3 separate regions of the Homo sapiens genome follow, and all the other regions are linked to region 3. Evidence: promoter capture Hi-C in human tissues and cell types (Jung and others, 2019). All regions are on one chromosome and are shown on one strand. Each heading gives the region's core, a stretch centred on a gene start or on the middle of the fragment in contact. The rest is flanking DNA. Distances are from core to core; before and after follow the strand shown.

The links. The method cuts DNA at HindIII sites, captures the fragments that hold promoters and counts their contacts. A contact is called where the count stands out against the background at its distance.
Region 1: the fragment with the promoter of ACER1 here is called in contact with a fragment that was not itself captured in region 3 in 4 of the 25 tissues and cell types used here (H1 embryonic stem cells, lymphoblastoid cells, mesendoderm cells and 1 more).
Region 2: a contact is called between the fragment with the promoter of KHSRP here and a fragment that was not itself captured in region 3, in 5 of the 25 tissues and cell types used here (dorsolateral prefrontal cortex, heart left ventricle, lymphoblastoid cells and 2 more).

The regions. Positions count from the first base shown.
Region 1 is chr19:6,332,267-6,337,140 of GRCh38, reverse strand. It overlaps ACER1 (alkaline ceramidase 1), which reads left to right and starts at 3,529. Exons shown (of 6, transcript NM_133492.3): 1 at 3,529-3,682. The coding sequence starts at 3,590. The HindIII fragment of the contact is 13,348 bases long and covers 1-4,874 here.
Region 2 is chr19:6,421,900-6,426,625 of GRCh38, reverse strand. It overlaps KHSRP (KH-type splicing regulatory protein), which reads left to right and starts at 1,815. Exons shown (of 19, transcript NM_001366299.1): 1 at 1,815-2,173; 2 at 4,190-4,286. The coding sequence starts at 1,925. It overlaps SLC25A41 (solute carrier family 25 member 41), which reads left to right. Exons shown (of 7, transcript NM_173637.4): 7 at 65-589. The coding sequence ends at 237. RefSeq lists an enhancer at 1,388-1,507. The HindIII fragment of the contact is 26,210 bases long and covers 1-4,726 here.
Region 3 is chr19:6,075,309-6,079,800 of GRCh38, reverse strand. The region is part of intron 1 of RFX2 (regulatory factor X2); the gene reads left to right. RFX2-AS1 (RFX2 antisense RNA 1) reads right to left here. Exons shown (of 2, transcript NR_199041.1): 2 at 2,677-2,781. Among named protein-coding and RNA genes, the nearest start is that of RFX2-AS1, 15 kb to the right of the region's middle. The HindIII fragment of the contact is 7,886 bases long and covers 1-4,492 here.

The sequences.
Region 1 (4,874 bases), core at 2,280-4,779, 260 kb before region 3:
GCAGTGGTGCAATCTCGGCTCACTGCAACCTCCGTTTTCTGGGTTCAAGCTATTCTCCTGCCTCAGTCTCCTGAGTAGCTGAGATTACAGGCGCGTGCCACCACACCAGGCTAATTTTTGTATTTTTAGTAGAGACGGGGTTTCACCATTTTGGCCAGGCTAGTCTTGAACTCCTGACCTCAAGTGCTCCACCTGCCTCAGCCTCCCAGAGTGCTGGGATTACAGGGGTGAGCCACCATGCCCGGCCAGTTCAGTGATTTGGAATGCAGGGCAACATAGCACCACAATTTATCTTTCTTTTTCTTTTTTTTTTTTTTTTTTGAGTCGGGGTCTCGATCTGTCGCCCGGGCTGAAGTGCAGTGGCGTGATCTCGGCTCACTACTACCTCCACCTCCCAGGTTCAAGCGATTTTCCTGCCTCAGCCTCCCAAGTAGCTGGGACTACAGGCGCCCGCCACCATGCCTGGCTAGGTTTTTATATTTTTAGTAGAGACGGGGTTTCACCATGTTAACCAGGATGGTCTTGATCTCCTGACCTCGTGATCCGCCTGCCTTGGCTTCCTAAAGTGCTGGGATTACAGGCATGAGCCACCGTGCCCAGCCCACAATTTATCTTTTTATGGAAACATCGTGTCAGCTCACTAACTCTTCACAACAGGCTTGAGAGGGCAGTACCATTATCATTTTCACCACCTTACAGGTGAGGAAACTGAGGCATCATAGAGGTGGTGTTCCTTGCCTGTCTCTATCACTTCCTAACTGTGTGACCTATGGTAAGTTCCTTAACTTCTCTGGGCTTTAGTTTCCTTGCTAGTGATTACTAGCAGGAGATAGGATCGCATGAGCTCAGGAGATCAAGCAAGGCTGCATTGAACTATGATTGCGCCACTGCACTCCAGCTTGGGCAACAGAGCAAGACCCTGTCTCAAAAGAGAAAAAGAGGCCAGGCACAGTGGCTCAAGCCTGTAATCCCAGCACTTTGGGAAGCCGAGACAGGTGGATCACCAGAAGTCACGAGTTCGAGACTAGCCTGGCCAACATGGTGAAACCCCGTCTCTACTAAAAATACAAAAATTAGCCGGGCATGCTGGCGGGTGCCTGTAAATCCAGCTACTTGGGAGGCTGAGGCAGGGGAATCGCTGGAACCTGGGAGGCAGAGGTTGCAGTGAGCTGAGATCATGCCATTGCACTCCAGCCTGGGTGACAAGAGTGAAACTCTATTTCAAAAAAAAAAAGAAAAGAAAAAGAAAAAAAAGAAAAAGAAAAGGGATAACAATAGTTCCTGGCGCTTAGGATTTTTTCTTTTTTTTTTAGACAGAGTCTTTCTCTGTCACCCAGGCTGGAGTGCAGTGGTGCAATTTTGGCTCGCTGCAAGCTCCGTCTCCTGGGTTCATGCCATTCTCCTGCCTCAGCCTCCTGAGTAGCTGGGACTATGGGCACCCACCATCACGCCCAGCTACCTTTTTTGTATTTTTAGTAGAAATGGGGTTTCACTGTGTTAGCCAGGATGGTCTCAATCTCCTGACCTTGTGATCCTCCCGCCTTGGTCTCCCAAAGCACTAGGATTACAGGCGTGAGCCACAGCACCCGGGGTAGGATTGTTAAGAACATTAAATGAAGGCCGGGCACAGTGGCTCACGCCTGTAATCCCAGCACTTTGGGAAGTCGAGACGGGCAGATCACAAGGTCAGGAGTTTGAGGCCAGCCTGGTCAATATGGTGAAACCCCGTCTCTACTAAAAATACAAAAATTAGCTGGGCATGGTGGCAGGTGCCTGTAGTCCCAGTTACTCAGGAGGCTGAGGCAGGAGAATTGCTTGAACTAGGGAGGTGGAGGTTGCAGTGAGCCAAGATCATGCCACTGCACTCCAGCCTGGGAGACAGAGTGAGGCTCCATCTCAAAAAAAAAAAAAAAAAAGAACGTTAAATGAGATAATACTGAAAATCAAGCACTTAAAAAAAGAAAAATTATATAATATATAATATTAATTATTATATTAAATTATATTAATCACATTAAAATAATATACTAAAATATTTAAAATATTATATAACAATAGTATTTTTAATATAATAATTTTATATTTTAATATAATATTGCTATTATATAATAAATAATTATATTATTATTGTTATGCACACTTGCTAACCGCTTGCTAAGGCCAGGCTCTTTTATTATAATAATAATAATTATTATTATTCCCACAAAGTTGACTTAAAGTTCAAGGTCAGCTTCAGTAAGAAAACCCTGTAATCCCAGCACTTTGGGACAGAGCAAGACTCCATCTCAAAAAAAAAAAGAAAACCCATTACCATCCATCAAGTGCCTACTCTAGCATAGGCAGTGGGCTAAGCCTTTGTACATGCTTTATCTCTGTCTTCCTTTGTTACAGTTGGCTCTGTCACCATCGTCTCCATATGACAGGTGAGCAAACAGAGGATCAGAGAGGTAAATTCACTTGCCCAAGGTCACACAGCTTAAAGTAGAGGAACTCAGGCCAGGTGAGGTGGCTCATGCGTATAATCCCGGCACCTTGGGAGGCCAAGGTGGGCAGATCACCTGAGGTCAGGAGTTCGAGACCAGCTTGACCAACATGGTGAAATCCTATCTCTACTAAAATACAAAAAAAATTAGCTGGGCATGGTGGCAGGTGCCAGTCATCCCAGCTACTTGGGAGGCTGAGGTAGGAGAATCGCTTGAACCCAGGAGGTGGAGGTTGCAGTGAGCTGACATTGCGCCACTACACTCCAGCCTGGGTGACAGAGCCAGACTGCATCTCAATTTTAAAAAAAAAGGCCGGGCACGGTGGCTCACGCACACCTATAATCCCAGCACTTTGGGAGGCCAAGGCAGGTGGATCACGAGGTCAGGAGATCGAGACCATCCTGGCTAACACAGTGAAACTCCATCTCTATTAAAAATACAAAAAATTAGCCGGTCGTGGCGGTGGGCGCCTGTAGTCCCAGCTACTCGGGAGGCTGAGGCGGGAGAATGGCGTGAACACGGGAGGCAGAGCTTGCAGTGAGCTGAGATCATGCCACTGCACTCCAGCCTGGGCAACAGAGCGACTCTGTCTCCAAAAAAAAAAACAATTAGCTAGGCATGGTGGCAGCATGTGCCTGTGGTCCTGGCTACTTCAGAGGCTGAGGCAGGAGTATTGCTTGAGCCTGGGAGTTTGAGGCTGCGGTGAGCTATGATGATGCCACTGTACCCCAGCCTGAGCAACAGAGCAAGGCCCTGACTCTAATAAATAAATACATACATACATAAAAGATAAAAACAGTTCCCTCCACTGCCCCCACCCCGATTCCTATTCCTGGGTAATCTGGATGGGAGGCCTCTTCCCTGCCTACTTCTGCCCCCTGCCCTGCCTGGACAGTGCCAGTCCCACGGCTTATGCTCAGGGCTGCTGTCACTGCACAGCCAGGCTGCCCTGGTGCAACTGGGGAGCGGCCCAGCAGGTTTTTCCTCCCAGTCTGCCTGCCGCGGGGCACCGGGCTGTCCTCTCCCCGCCTCATCAGGGCCCAGCCTTCCCAAGCTCGCCTTCTCTCTGCCGGGCGCAGCCGGCTGGTGGTGGCCACTGAGACAAGATGCCTAGCATCTTCGCCTATCAGAGCTCCGAGGTGGACTGGTGTGAGAGCAACTTCCAGTACTCGGAGCTGGTGGCCGAGTTCTACAACACGGTGAGTGCGTGGGTGTGTGAAGGAGTCTCGCCAGATGCCGGTTCGAATCCCGGTTCCTCCCCATACAGCCTTACTGGGGAATCTTGCTGGAGTGGTTCACCTGTCTCAGCCCTAGTTTTCTCATCTGTTAGCCAAAGAGTGCCAGCTTTCATTCATTTACTTGTCTTTACTTGATGCCAAGCTCTGTGGTAGGTTTTGGAGACACATTGGTGGCCAGGAAAAGAACCGGTCTCTGCCTTCCCTAAGCTAACTCTGATGTGACTGCAGGCATTTGCAACCGGGAGCGATGGTGCCTTCTTGGAGGGCACAGAGGCAGCTGTGGTAGGGGGAGGCAGAGGGTGCCCCTGAGCTAGAGGGGGTGGGCCAATCAGGAAAGGCTTCCTGGAAGAGGTGATTGTGTCTGTCTTGTTTGCAGCTGTACCCACTGACCAACTTGTCCCAGTGTGCCTGGGACTATCCTGGTTTCAGTATTTAAAAAGTTTCACCTCTTGGCTGGGCGCGGTGGCTCACGTCTGTAATCCTAGCACTTTGGAAGGCCAAGGTGGGTGGATTGCCTGAGCTCAGGAGTTGGAGATCGCCCTGGGCAACGTGGTGAAAGCCCATCTCTACTAAAATAAAAAATTAGCTGGGTACGGTGTCAGGCATCTGTAGTCCAAGCTACTCAGGAGGCTACGGCATGAGAATCGCTTGAACCCAGGAGGCGGAGGTTGCAGTGAGCTGAGATTGTGCCACTGCACTCCAGCCTGGGTGAAAAAGCGAGACTGTCTCAAAAAAAGAAGAAAAAAAGTCCCACCTCCTGAGAAACTCCTCAGTTCTGGACATTCTGAGGTGGTCTTCTCTTTCCCTGTTAAAACACCACATGGGAAGTGCTAAAAAATCATGGATGTACCTAGCACCATGGCTCATGCCTGTAACCCCAGCAATTTGGAACGCAGAGGCAGGAAGATCGCTTGAGCCCAGGAGTTCCAGACCAGCCTGGGCAACATAGCAAGACCCTGTCTCTACAAAAAGTTTTTAAAAATTAGCTGGGTGTGGTGGTGTGTGCTTGTAGTTCCAGCTACTTGGGAGGCTGAGGGGGGAGGATTTCTTGAACCCAAGAAGTGGAGGATGCAGTGAGCTGAGGTCATACCACTGCACTCCAGCCTGGGTGACAGAGGGAGACCCTGTCTCAAAAAAAAAAAAAAAAAAAAAA
Region 2 (4,726 bases), core at 566-3,065, 350 kb before region 3:
TTCCAGACTCCTAGGAGGCCCGGTCATCTCTGGCCTAGTCCTGATCTTGCCTGTGTCCCTGCAGATACCGTGGAGGGCTCAAATCCCACCATGCGCGGAGTCCTCCAGCGGATCCTGGCCCAGCAGGGCTGGCTAGGGCTGTACCGAGGCATGACCCCCACGCTACTGAAGGTCTTACCAGCAGGTGGCATCAGCTATGTGGTGTACGAAGCCATGAAGAAAACCCTGGGCATATAGGCTGTGAGCTGGACGACACAGCCTAGGCAGAAATGGGACAGGAGGACCTGATGACCCCTGGCCCCAAAGAGCCCTCGAGGCCTCAAGGTTCAGGCCCTGGGGCAGTTTTTGGTGGCAAAAGCAGGCTGGGGGTGGGGGTGGGGCTCTGGGTCAGAAGATTCCTGAAGCTGGGGTTGGTGGTGGGTGGAGGGGGGCAGTGCTGGGTCAGAAAACTCCTGGGACTCCCTCCCCAGGGTGCAGCCTGAGACAAGAAACGTGGACTCCAGTCTGGCCCCTTGTGGGTCGTCCTGGCTCCAGGGCGAAATGGTGAACATGTCACACAACAAGGAATAAAGAGATGGTTTTTGCTGAACGTGTCTGGATACTTGGGCCTAGGAGTGGAACTGGGTGCATGAGATCCCTGGACCCAGTAGGGGAGCTGGGGACCTTGGGCCTCTGGGTCCTGAATGGGAATTTGTGTCCAGGAGAGGAAGTGAGGACCTAGGATAGGAGCTTGAGGCTTGGATCCCAGGGCCTTAGGCGAAGGGAGTGAGGGGTGTGAAGTGAGGGGTGTGATCGAGGCTGTGATCCCTCGATCCCGGTTGTTGGAACGGTTCTGGACTCGTGAGTGGGGCTGGTTCCTTGAGTCCTGCAAGAGAACTGGACGCTCTAGATGGGGGGTCGAGAGAGAAGAAGGCCCGGGGGATCCCGAGTTTCCTGCTTTCCGGCCTCCCCACCTCCGGAAGCGCTCGATCTCTAAGGCTTCAAGCGGGCCACGTGCCGGGCCTACCCAACCAGGCTGCCGGTGAGCTAACCCAGACATCAGGCCTGAGTTCGGGCAGCCGATTGCCACCGCCCACGTCGGCTGCCATTCACTACAGTTCCCGCTAATCCCCTCGCTGTCTGGTGGCCGACTCCGCCCCAATGCAGCGGCGCTTCCACTGGCTCCCACCAAAAGTGGGCGCTTTGATTTCCTTCATTCCCATTTGTCCAGACCAGTGTCAGTCACCGAACACCCACCCATGTCGCTCAGCCATTGGCTTAGAAGTCAGGGATAGAAAAGGATTCTGGTTAACAAGGGAAGCAATTAAAGTCCAAAGCCAACCTCATCACCCAGAACTCGTCAGGAATTGGATTAATTGGCTGCCCATCTTTACAAGCACCACCTCTCACGTGCATTCATTGGCTTGTGTCCACGACTATCAAACCTAACGCCCACCCAGCCGGTCCATAGGAGTCTTCCACTAGGCCCGGCCTTACAGTCCACGTGACTCTTCAGAACCGTCAATCTAATTCTGAAGCCGCCCCGCGAATCTGGCACTCGCGTTTCATTGGGCCTCCTGCCTTCTCAGATCTCCTTCATTTGCCCGCCCAGCACGGGCAGCTCGCAGCTATTGCCTCTGAGAGCTGTCAGTCACTCTGAGCCTCCCGCCCACTGCCCCTCATTGCACTCCGATTGGCCACCTCCTACAGAGCTCGCGATTGGTGTCCGGGGTGCGGCGGCTGCCTCCCATTGGCCCGCCGGAGTCGTCCGTCACGTCGGCGGCGGGAGGGGCGACTCTCTCCCCCCTCGTCGTCCTCCCAGCGGCTGGGTTCCCAGAGTGCTCCGCGGCCGTGTGGAGCGAGGCCTTGTTCCCGCGTTGAGCCGCCGCCGCCGCCGCCGCCTCCTCAGCTTCAGCCTCCGCGCCAGGCCCGGCCCCGCCGCGCCATGTCGGACTACAGCACGGGAGGACCCCCGCCCGGGCCGCCGCCGCCCGCCGGCGGGGGCGGGGGAGCCGGAGGCGCCGGGGGAGGCCCTCCGCCGGGCCCGCCAGGCGCGGGGGACCGGGGCGGCGGCGGTCCCGGCGGCGGCGGCCCGGGCGGGGGGTCGGCCGGGGGCCCCTCTCAGCCACCCGGCGGAGGCGGCCCGGGAATCCGCAAGGACGCTTTCGCCGACGCCGTGCAGCGGGCCCGCCAGGTGAGGAGGCCGAGGGCCTGAGGGGCGCGCTCGCGCGCGCGCGCAGGCGGGGGAGGGGGCGGGGGTCACGTGCGCGCGCGCGCGCAGGGTCGCGGAGGGGGGCCGGGGCCGTCGCGGGGTCACGTGGGCGGTAGGCGGGGGCCTGGCCCTCCCGCTGCGCCTCGAGTGGGATCCCAACGGGTGACCCCCCTGCAGGGAGTAGGGGCGCACTGGGGGTCACCAGGAGCGGCGCCTGGGTGTGCAGGCGCCCCGGAGCTCGGAGACGCACTTTTGGGACCCCCCCCTTAGCCCCCCGGCCTTAGGACATGCCTGGAGGCAGGGGTCCACCTTCCCGGGCGGAGGGCCTTTACTCTCCCCTCCATATCAGGGCAAAGGGCAGTGTTTGCCCCCAACCCAGTCCCATTTCTGTCCCCTCTCTAGGAGAAAGGGACATTGTGGGGGTGGGAGGGACAGTCCTTCCTCTTCAGTCGGGAAAGTGGATGGGGACCTGTCTAGGGCTGAGCACTTGGGCGAAATGGGGAAGACGAGCATGGGGACTGGCTCTTGGATGCTTTGGTGGCTTGAAAGCGTGGTCTGTCTCTTTGGGGGAAAGAAGGGAGGGTCTCCCACCCCCGTGTATTGAGGCGTAATGACAAGGAAGTGTCACATGCTGCTAGGACTGACCTCTCCAGCTCCATTTGCAGCCTCCCCATGGCCTGGAGGGGTGGGGGTCGGTAGAATGGGAGGACTTTGCCGCCGACCGGCTCCTGGGCTGTCCCAATGCCTCCGGGGCTAGAGACTGGCTCCTCCCAAGGTGGGAGGTCCCGTTAAGTGAACGCCTGTGTTCTGGCCCTCTGTCGTCTCTCTCACCCTTGGAGTTGGGTGGGTTCTAGCGTGCATTTGGTCTTATTGCCCATGGAACCGTCTGATTCTGGGACAGCTTGAAGGGAGGAAGCTGGTGCTGTCAGTTGGTGGGGACAGGCCCCCTGTGGGCATCCCATGAGTTTTGGCTCTAGGGCAGCGTAGAAAAATGGAGACTGGTGGAAAGGGAGATTCTTAACATGGTTTGGGTTTCTAAACCCCAGACTCTGATCCTAAGTTTGCTGGGTTGAGGTTTCTTTAAAGTTGCTCTTCACGTGTCTGAGATGTAACTTGTGTCCCATAGAGTCTTGGTTTTTTGTTTGTTTGTTTGTTTTTTGGAAACAGTCTCAATATCACCCAGGCAGGGGTGCAGTGGCACGATCTCAGCACACCACAGCCTCCACCTCTCCAGTTGAAGTGCTCCTCCTGCCTCAGCCTCCCGAGTAGCTGGGATTATAAGTGTGCACCACCACACCCAGCTAATTTTTGTATTTTTAGTAGAGATGGAGTTTGACCATGTCAGCCAGTCTGTCTCGAACTCCTGAGTTCAAGTGATCTGCCCGCCTCGGCCTCCCAAAATGCTGGGATTACAGGCATAAGTCACAGTGCCCAGCCATCCAGAGAGTCTTCTGTTTTGGTCAAATGAGGATTTCATATCCCTTGAAGTGATCGCTTTGCTCAAATTTATTCAATAAATTGATAAAAGGATTTTGAGAGTGGGGGAGATAGGGGAAAATTGAACTCTTCAGCATCCCAGGAAAACGGGGCTAAAAAAAAACACACTTTCTGGTTTTCTGAGCTGGGGCCACTGGCAGGAGGAAGTGTCTGAAAGCTCTTGGAGATGACCTGGGAACCCTCCCTGACACCTGAGCCTCTGTTCCTTGTCACCCCTAGAACGAAGTCAGTGTGGATTATGGGCTGGCCACAATTAAGACACAAATCCCAGGAGAAGGGAAGAGGGGAATTTTGATATTCCCAGTTAACTGGTGAGAACCTTGAGGCCTAGGTTCAAAACTCCTAGGATGTCTTAACCAACTGACTCTTCCCTAAGTTGGAGGGCCAGACACCAAGACCTGATGGGCTTTCGTGTCCAGGAGATGTTCTGAGAAGTTGACCTGGGTGCCATGGAGGGTTGTTTTTGGTGGTAATTCTTCTGTGCTTACTACTTTATTCTAGATTGCAGCCAAAATTGGAGGCGATGCTGCCACGACAGTGAATAACAGCACTCCTGATTTTGGTTTTGGGGGCCAAAAGAGACAGTTGGAAGATGGAGGTAACTCCCTGCTGCTGCCTTTAGCTTAGGAGGAAGGGCTGGGGGCCTAAAGAGGTGCTTTTGTTTGAGTGTGGTTCAGAGGGGGTGGGTGTCACTGTTGTTTGGTCTTTTAAAACCTCAGCAATCCCGGCCTTGTTAATTCTTCTTGTTCCGTCTGCCATCCTGAGGTATCAGGTGGCAGAGAGGAGGGCAGATTGATTGTGACTGGGTCGAAGTTGTAAGTTCCCAAGATGATTCCTCCCTTTCTGGGAGGCTGAGGCAACCTGGAGCAGTTACTGAGGCTTGATGTGAAGTTGGCCCAGCTCTGGGGTGCGTAGTGTGACCCCAAGTAGCGGATGATCAACCCTGACCAACTCCACTGTTATCCACGACACCCTCCCTGCTAGAGGCAGGTCCTGTCCTAAACCGGGAGGACTCAGGTGCCTGGTGGTGGTTGCGTG
Region 3 (4,492 bases), core at 1,851-4,350:
GATTTTCCTGCATCGGCCTCCCAAGTAGCTGGGACTACAGGCACGAGCCACCATGCCCAGCTAATTTTTGTATTTTTAGTAGAGACGGAGTTTCACCATGTTGGCCAGGATGGTCTCGATCTCCTGACCTCGTGATCCACCCACCTCAGCCTTCCAAAGTGCTAGGATTACAGGCGTGAGCCACCACACCCAGCCCACTTGCACAGATTCTTATAACCTCCATCTCAAACAGGATGGAGAGCAAGTCCAACCTCTCTCTGTAGTCAGACCCTGGCCCCATTCTTAGCCTCTGGCCACCATCTGCTGTCCCTTTCTATAGCTCTGCCTTTTCCAGAATGTCGTATAAATGGAAACATACATTGTGCAGCTTTTGAGACTGGCTACATTCACTTGGCATAAATGCCTCTGGGATTCATTCTGTCATTGCGTGTGTCAGTCGTTTGTTCCTTTTATTGCTGGAGCACAGTCCTTGTGTGATCCTACCACAGTTTGTTTGTCTGGTATATTTTCTCTTCATGATGGATGTTGAATTAACATGAAAACCTCTGGTTGTAAGAGCGACAGCATACTCTAGACCAAGTACACTAAATCGCAGTGATACTCCCTGCACAAACAGCCATTCTGTTTGGTAATTTACAGGATTACAGTTTGGTAATTTACAGGAACCTGCATGTCTTAGAATGTTTACCAATGAATTACAACTTTTAAAATGATATGCAAGTAATGGCCGGGCGCCGTGGCTCACGCCTATAATTCCAGCACTTTGGGAGGCCGAGGCAGGTGGCTCTCTTGAGGTCAGGAGTTCGAGACCAGCCTGGCCAACATGGTGAAACCCCGTCTCTACTAAAAATACAAAAATTAGCTGGGCATGGTGGCATGTGCCTGTAATCCCAGCTACTTGGGAGGCTGAGGCACTAGAATAGTTTGAACCCGGGAGGTGGAGGTTGCAGTGAGCTGAGATTGTGCACTGCACCCCAGCCTGGGAGACAGAGCAAGATTCCATCTCAAAAAATAAAATGATATGCAAGTAATACAAGTAACATTCTCCTGGGAAGGACCACCATCTACAGCAGGAGATTCAGAAATGAAAATTTCTCTTTTCGTCTTTCTGTCTATCCCACCTCATATGAGGTAAGCACTGTTAGTCATATAACTTGTGTCCTTCTAGATCTTTTTAAGGCCCCTTTACCTATTTTATAGTATGTATAGCTGGGGTTTTTTCAACATAAATTTATTCTGCAAATATTTGAGAGCCTACTGTGTGCCAGGCACTGCAGATGTTGGCTTTCTTTCTTGGAGACGGTACCTCTTCTTTTTAATGGCAGCATAGTTTTAGAGCTAGGATGCACCATAAGGTACTTAATGATTTTCCTGTTGATGAACATTTGTTTCTAAATTTTTATGACTTAAACTAATGCCACTGGGGACAGGTCGTCAATATACCTTTTTTTTTTTTTTTTTTACAGCTGTGCTGAGATCTGTTTTACATACCGTAAAGCTCACCCATTTGAAGTGTATGGTTCAGTGGGTCTTAGTATACTATCTTCACAGAACATTTTCATCACTCCGAAAAGAAGAAGAAACCCTGAACCTGCCATGAACAGCCACTTGCCCTTCCTCCTCCCAGCCCCGGGCAACTGTGAATCCACTTTCTGTCTCTGTGGATTTGCCTGTTTTGAACCTTTCATATAAACAGAATCACACACTATGTGGCCTTTTGTGACTGGCTTCTTCCACGTAACATAATGTTTTCAGGGTCCACTGTCCATCCGTTTACAGCATGTGCCAGTGCCTCGTTCCTTTTTTTTTTTTTTTTTTTTGAGATGGAATTTTGCTCTTGTTGCCCAGGCTGGAGTGCAATGGCGCGATCTTGGCTCACTGCAACCTCCGCCTCCCGGGTTCAAGCGATTCTCCTGCCTCAGCCTCCCAAGTAGCTGGGATTACAGGCATGTGCCACCACGCCCGGCTAATTTTGTATTTTAATAGAGACAGGGTTTCTCCATGTTGGTCAGGCTGGTCTCAAACTCCTGACCTCAGGTGATCCACCCGCCTCAGCCTCCCAAAGTGCTGGGATTACAGGTGTGAGCCACCGCGCCCGGCCGCCTTCGTTTATCCATCCATCAGTTGACAAACATTTGGGCTGTTGCTACTTTGGGGCCATTAGGACAACGCTGCTGTGAACATTGGTATCCAAGCATTTGTGTGGCCATGCACTGTTTAGCACATGTCTACTTCTGCAGGATGAATTTTGAGGAGGGGAAAAAGACCCCACTTATAGCTAGCTCTTTGTCTCTGACTGTGTAGGTTTGAACATCTCGTAAGTCTTGAGAAATGCTTGGAGGCCATTTCCTGCAGAGGCACACGCCCCTCTTGGGTGGGCTGGGGGAGGCAGTGGCAGAGCCCAGCCCACCTGCCCCAGCCACCAGTGCTCCCGGGTTTTGCATTCAGCCCCTGGCACACACTCATGGCTAACCCTGGTGCCCTTGCCTGTCTTTGACCCAGCACTGGCGAAGGAATTGGCAAAGCCACCAGGTTAATGATGCAAGCCCCAGAAACTTGCGGCATAGATGAGAAGGCAAATGGCCTCTCCTTTTGGAGAACTAAAGAGATTTAAGGAAGCTTGCTGGCTCACTCCCTCTCACCGGCAAGGATGGCACTAAACACAGTCCGCATCAATCACTGTTTTTGTTATGCGATTTATGAGTTGCTCAGCCGAGAATAAGGTTGCACGTGGTAGGAGGAGTTCTGTGTGTACCGAGGTCTCATGGAAGGACTGGATTTCTAGGGAAGAAAAGGGAAAAGGGAGTTGATGTTAAAATATCATTTCTATAACAGTAATGCAGTAGTGTTCATCTAGAAGGAGAGCTGCCACATTTGGCAAGATGCTGGGAGAGAAACAAGTATTAAGTACTTGGTTAAAATGACAAACCCCACAAATATGCCCTGGAATGAATATAGCTCATAGCAGGAGGCACTCCCTAAAGGGCTTAGCAACATCACAAATAGCGAAGAGTTTTTGAAATCACAAATAGCAAACAGCATAACTGCTTTTAGTTTCAGATATTTAAATCTGCAAAAAATCAGTAAATTATGTGGGTTACGTTATAATGGTGTGAATTACAACGATGACGCTAATGAACATTTATGGGCATTTTCCGTGTGCTGGGCTGGCCATTAAACTCCACACTTTGTAGGACTCCTCTCATTTAACACAACCACCCAACACAGATAGAAGTATTTTCTCCGTTTATGGACAAAGAAATGGAAGTGCAGAAAGATTTAAGTCCCTGGCTGAGGTCACCCAGCTAGAAACTGGAGGACCCAGGAACTGGACCCAGGCACCGGACCCAGGCACCCTCGCCTAGCCTCCTGTTTTAGAGCTAGGATGCACCGTAAGGTAGTTAATGGTATTCCAGTTGATGAACGTTTGTTTCTTATTTATGTATTTATTTATTTTGAGACAGAGTCTCTCTCTGTCACCCAGGCTGGAGTACAGTGGCACCATCTCGGCTCACTGCAACCTCAGCCTCCCGGGTTCAGGCGATTCTCCTGCCTCAGCCTCCCAAGTAGCTGGGATTACAGGCATGCACCACCACGCATGGCTAATTTTTGTATTATTTTTTAGTAGAGATGGGGTTTCGCCATGTTGGCCAGGCTGCTCTCGAACTCATGACCTCAAGTGATCTGCCCACCTTGGCCTCCCAAAATGTGCTGGGATTACAGGCATGAGCCACCGCCCCCAACCTCGTTTCTAATTTTTTGTGAACACCAAGCTCCGAAAGCCAAGTAAAGGGGTGACGCTGTGTATTTCAGAGCTCGATATTCCCTCTGCTTTCTTCCTCTCCTCTGTCCCCTATGCCAGATCCTCCAACTGTTCATGACCTTTGAACTTGAGAAGGGACCTCTTTTCTGCTTTATCTACACCTGCTTTCCTGGTGATCTCACCGAGGTACAAGAGTTGAAATGCATCTTAGAACCTCCAGTGTCCTAGTGTCTGCAGCCTGGCTCACTCCCCGAATCCTGGACTTGTGTACCTAGCTGCCTAGGTGGCAGCTGCATGTGGGTGTCATCTGATGGGCATCTGAGGCTTCTGTCACCCAAAACTGGGTGCCTGATTCGACCTCACACTTGTCTCTCCCCAGACCACGGGCTTCCCCAGCTCAGCACCGGGCAGCTCCATTCTCTAGGTGCTCAGGCCAGCCCCAAGCCTTAAGTCAGCCTCGACTCCTCTCTTTCTTTCACCCTTTATGTCAAACCCGTCAGCAAACCTGGCTGGCTCTGTCTTCAGGTGTCTCCCAAATGAGAGCACTGCTATCACGTAAGTCTTTGTCACCTCTGACCTGGTTGTCCAGCCCTGACGTTTGCTTCCATTGACCGTTGATACTTCCAAAATATCTGTCAGATTGTGTCCCTGTGCCCTAAACCTTCCAGTAGCTTCCCAGCACACTCAGAGCGAAAGCCAAACACTCCACTGTGGCCTCCTTGTGTCTCT